Regions from separate parts of the Homo sapiens genome. Here region 2 is linked to region 1. Evidence: promoter capture Hi-C in human tissues and cell types (Jung and others, 2019). All regions are on one chromosome and are shown on one strand. Each heading gives the region's core, a stretch centred on a gene start or on the middle of the fragment in contact. The rest is flanking DNA. Distances are from core to core; before and after follow the strand shown.

The links. The method cuts DNA at HindIII sites, captures the fragments that hold promoters and counts their contacts. A contact is called where the count stands out against the background at its distance.
Region 2: a contact is called between a fragment that was not itself captured here and the fragment with the promoter of NAPEPLD in region 1, in 3 of the 25 tissues and cell types used here (bladder, heart right ventricle and liver).

Annotation. Positions count from the first base shown.
Region 1 is chr7:103,147,779-103,150,444 of GRCh38, reverse strand. NAPEPLD (N-acyl phosphatidylethanolamine phospholipase D) reads left to right here and starts at 1,346. Exons shown (of 5, transcript NM_001122838.3): 1 at 1,346-1,634. It overlaps LOC105375434, which reads right to left. Exons shown (of 3, transcript XM_047421168.1): 2 at 1-1,427. The coding sequence ends at 625. The HindIII fragment of the contact is 5,120 bases long and covers 1-2,666 here.
Region 2 is chr7:103,244,057-103,246,722 of GRCh38, reverse strand. It overlaps the pseudogene DPY19L2P2. Among named protein-coding and RNA genes, the nearest start is that of PMPCB, 52 kb to the left of the region's middle. The HindIII fragment of the contact is 4,146 bases long and covers 1-2,666 here.

The DNA of each region.
Region 1 (2,666 bases), core at 97-2,596:
TCAGCAGCCACTCTAAGCTAGCCTGAGGAGATAAAGTCCACACTTGACATACAGTTCTTTACATTCCTCCAATGTCACACAGGCACATTCACTTTCAAAATGCAGAATAGTTTGGTCTGCATTTTTCTGCCAGTCTTATCTGCATTTAGAACCTGTGGTGGTGGTTTCTTTTTTGCCAAGATAACCCCAGGGACAAGCTTTTTTTTTTTTTTTTGACCCTGGCACACCCCAGGACTTTTATAATCTTTTTGCCCAACAACCCATTGTTGAATTTTACTTCGACATGCCTGTACTTTACTTCTTGAAACAACTAATTTCATTCTGCAGTTTAAAAAGCAAATCCAGTAAGAAACTCAGAATCACAATCGTATGCTCTTTCATAGTTATCCTAGCGTTAAAAAAGATGCAAATTTAGATGAGAACCGTGTGTACCAGGGGGCTGTGACATCATTTTAAAAGTAAACGATCACACAGTGAACAATGCCGTGCTCCCATTAATATTCAATACGTACTGTACAACATTTCAAATTAGAGTTTAGTTTCTTCGCTACCAGGATCCTAGCGCCATAGGCTGTAAGTATTCAAATGCTTCTCGACTGTGATTGAGTTGGCTATGACAGTCCGTCAATGGGTCTGCAGGATCCCATTTAGTTTTAGCAACTGTGGCTGGTGTCCAGGAATGCGTTCATGCGATCTGAAAGTAAGCCTCTGGCTTAGGACAGCGGGGGGAACCAATTTGATCTTAGGAGGGTCCCTGCAGAGTGTTTGAGTCGCGAGGCGGGCCGGGGCAGGCCGCGTGCTCCCAGGCGCTTCCTTTACCAAGATGGCTTCGGCGCCCCGGCCCACAGGGGCGGCCATCTTGGTAAGGGCTGGAGAGGCAGCCTGAAGGAGGCCACCGCTGGCCCTGCTGTCAGATTCGAAGGTCATAATAAGGGAGTGACCCGGCGACGACTCGCCCCAACGATGGCGAGGCGGCGAGAGCTGAAGCGCTGCCTGCAGCTGCTGGCGTCCTCGGCGGAGCCAGCGCGGCGGGCTCGGGTTAGGAAGAACCCGAGCGCCTGCCGCGGTCGCCCCTCCCGCTACGCGGCGGCGCTTTGCGCGGGGACTCTGTGGCCGGAAGCCGCGGAACTGAGGCGGCGCGCGCTCCCGGCCACCCCAAGCGCGAGGTGAGTCCGCACCCCCGCGCTCGCACCCCGCCGCTCTGGCCGCGCGCCCGCGGCCCGGGATCCCGAGTGTCCGGAGCTCCGTGGTTTCTGTTGGACCTCGCGGGAGGCGGTTTTCTCCCGCCTGCTGTGCTCTGTGACCTCTCTGCTGCCTCCTCCACGGTCTCTGGGCGGAGCAATCCACACTGCTGAGCCTGGGGTGGTTTGGAATTCTTCGGCGAAGTGGAGCGGGCTGAGAGTGGGTTTCCCGTCCCCGAGCCCTCCCTCATCTCGGAGATGCCGCACTTGTGAGCGACAGGGCTTCATTTGAATTTTCGCACCTCGCGAGTTGCGGAGCCTGCATCTCTGAAGCTGCCTCGGTGAAGAGCCACAGCATTATTTTTTTTCTCTTTGGGAGAGTAGCTGTCTGGGATTTGAGATCCTATCTTCCCTGCAAATTACCAGGTTGCATCTTCACTGATAGGAATACATGTGGGTTTATCTTCTTTTGGTTGTATGTAAATGAATGGGTCGACAACTTCCTCCGAGCAACTTATTGTTGCTTCATCTATAGTGTTTATCTTCTAAAAATCCATTCCAACAGGTTTCTCCCCTTTTATTTTGGAATAAGTGTACTTATTTAACTATGGAATGGAAATGAAGAGCAAAAAAAAAAATGGGGCTAGCTGGGGAGGGGTGGTGGAAGGCTGTGCTTTCTTGAGTTTTCTGTTCTGTGGTTGTTTGCTTCTTATAAATTGGGTATTATTGTGGGCTTTTCAGAACACGTATTCAGATAGGTTTTTGTTGTTGTTGTTTTGTTTGTTTGTTTTTTCCTTTTTTTTTTTTTTCAAGCTAGAGCTCGATATGGTAGATACTCTTCCATGGGTTCCGGGATCACATGCATTCATTATACGTCAGTTAAACCTGGAAAATATTAAGGGAGTGAGTAAAGTTTAACAGCCTTTTAAAAAGTCATTTAGTTCTTGTCTTTGCCTTTACTGTACGTTGTTATATATACATGTTATAATATGACTGACTCACCTGGTTGGCTTTGGCTTAGCATGAAATGTTTGCTACTTGATAATTCTGATTAATTTGTCCAGGAAGTCATTCCTGAGATGCAGTTCTTCAAATTGAGAAATAATTCCCATGTTTGTTAAAAAATGGAAATCTCTAACATTTCCATTTCTATTTTCAGTTACATTGGTTATGAATTAGCCGCAGACATGGACATCGTTTAGAAAGAAGTTATGTAATCTTTAAAAAGAAGATTACCTATATCCCACAATAGTGTGATTTTTGTTGCAAGAAAATACTGGGTCTGTTAAAGAAGAAATTTAGGGTAAAAGTACTTATTTAAAATAATAATTTAAGGAGAGATTGAGGGGTTAAATTTGTTTCAAGTCAACTGAAAATATAGTCAGGATTTTCAGAGATTTTGTTTTGTTAACATTCTGCAGGCTTTCCTGCTACAAGAATTATGGTAAGTCTCCAAGAGATAAAAATACTTAGTGTATTTCTCAT
Region 2 (2,666 bases), core at 119-2,618, 96 kb before region 1:
TGTGAATTTGATCCTGTCGTTATGATGTTAGCTGGTTATTTTGCTCGTTACTTGATGCAGTTTCTTCCTAGCCTTGATGTTCTTTACAATTTGGCTTGTTTTTGCAGTGGCTGGTACCAGTTGTTCCTTTCCATATTTAGTGCTTCCTTCAGGAGCTCTTTTAGGGCAGGCCTGGTGGTGACAAAATCTCTCAGCATTTGCTTGTCTGTAAAGGATTTTATTTCTCCTTCACTTACGAAGCTTAGTTTGGCTGGATATGAAATTCTGGGTTGAAAATTCTTTTCTTTAAGAATGTTGAATATTGGCCCGCATTCACTTCTGGCTTGTAGAGTTTCTGCTGAGAGATCCGCTGTTAGTCTCATGGGCTTCCCTTTGTGGGTAACCTGACCTTTCTCTCTGGCTGCCCTTAACAATTTTTCCTGCATTTCCATTTTGGTGAATCTGACAATTCTGTGTCTTGGAGTTGCTCTTCTCGAGGAGTATCTTTGTGGCATTCTCTGTATTTCCTGAATTTGAGTGTTGGCCTGCCTTGCTAGACTGGGGAAGTTCTCCTGGATAATATCCTGCAGAGTGTTTTCCAACTTGGTTCCATTCTCCCTGTCACTTTCAGGTACACCAATCAGATGTAGATTTGGTCTTTTCACATAGTCCCATATTTCTTGGAGGCTTTGTTCGTTTCTTTTTATTGTTTTTTCTCTAAACTTCTCTTCTCGCTTCATTTCATTCATTTGATTGTCCATCACTGATACCCTTTCTTCCAGTTGATCGAATTGGCTACTGAGGCTTGTGCATTCGTCATGTAGTTCTCGTGCCTTGGTTTTCAGCTCCATCAGGTCCTTTAAGGACTCCTCTGCATTGGTTATTCTAGTTAGCCATTCGTCTAATTTTTTTTTCAAGGTTTTTAACTTCTTTGCCATGGGTTCAAACTCCCTTTAGCTCAGAGTAGTTCGATCATCTGAAGCCTTCTTCTCTCAACTCGTCAAAGTCATTCTCCATCCAGCTTTGTTCCGTTGCTGGTGAGGAGCAGCGTTCCTTTGGAGGAGGAGAGGCACTCTGATTTTTAGGGTTTTCAGTTTTTCTGCTCTGTTTTTTTCCCCATCTTTGTGGTTTTATTTACCTTTGGTCTTTGATGATGGTGACGTACAGATGGGGTTTTGGTGTGGATGTCCTTTCTGTTTGTTAGTTTTCCTTCTAACAGTCAGGACCCTCAGCTGCAGGTCTGTTGGAGTTTGCTGGAGGTCCACTCCAGACCCTGTTTGCGTGGGTATCAGCAGTGGATGCTGCAGAACAGTGGATATTGGTGAACAGCAAGTGTTGCTGCCTGATCATTCCTCTGGAAGTTTTGTCTCAGAGGAGTACCCGGCTGTGTGAGGTGTCAGTCTGCCCCTACTGGGGGTGCCTCCCAGTTATGCTACTCGGAGGTCAGGGATCCACTTGAGGAGGCAGTCTGTCTGTTCTCAGATCTCCAGCTGCGTACTGGGAGAACCGCTACTCTCTTCAAAGCTGTCAGACAGAGACATTTAAGTCTGCAGAGGATTCTGCTGCCTTTTGTTTGGCAATGTCCTGCCCCCAGAGGTGGAGTCTACAGAGGCAGGCAGGCCTCCTTGAGCTGCGGGAGGCTCCACCCAGTTCGAGCTTCCTGGCTGCTTTGTTTACCTACTCAAGCCTTGGCAATGGCAGGCGCCCCTCCCCCATCCTGGCTGCCGCCTTGCAGTTTGATCTCAGACTGCTGTGCTAGCAATGAGGGAGGCTCCGTGGGCATAGGACCCTCTGAGCCAGGTGCGGGATATAATCTCCTGGTGTGCCATTTACTAAGACCACTGGAAAAGCGCAGTATTAGGGTGGGAGTGACCCAATTTTCCAGGTGCCTTCTGTCACCCCTTTCTTTGATTAGGAAAGGGAATTCCCTGATCCCTTGCGCTTCCCGGGTGAGGCAATGCCTAGCCCTGCTTCAGCTCATGCTCGGTGCACTGCACCCACTGTCCTGCACCCACTTTCCGACAATCCCCAGTGAGATGAACACAGTACCTCAGTTGGAAATGCAGAAATCACCCGTCTTCTGCATCGCTCATGCTGGGAGCTGTAGACTGGAGCTGTTCCCATTCGGCCATCTTGGCTCCACCCCCCGCCAACTCATCTTACTTTGATTTATCCACATTTCCTCAGTTCCTCCATGTACAATTGGTCCTTGCTGCTCACACATTCTTTCTTTCAATTTCTTCCTCTTTGAAGTTCATCCTTTGTATTTTCTGTGTGAAGCTTTATTAAATGGTAAATCATTTCCCATGAGCCTTCCTCTGCTGTTTTCTTCCTTTCTTTCTTCATTAATTCAACCAATATTTATTAATCTTCCAAGTGTGAAGCTGGGGATATAGCAATGAACAAGACAGATAAAGAACCTGTCCCTGTCCTCATGGTGCTTAGAATGTGTTAGACTAGGGAAGTGGTGTATGGAGAAAAGATAAATGGAAGCATAGAAACACTATACAGATGTGGGATTGAGCATCTGCATTCTTATACACAGACATGATCACAAAAAGGCAATTTAAGAAATGGTTTTTGGCCGGGTGCGGTGGCTCACGCCTGTAATCCCAGCACTTTGGGAGGCTGAGGCGGCTGGATCACTTGAAGTCAGGAGTTTGAGACCAGCCTGGCCAACATGGCGA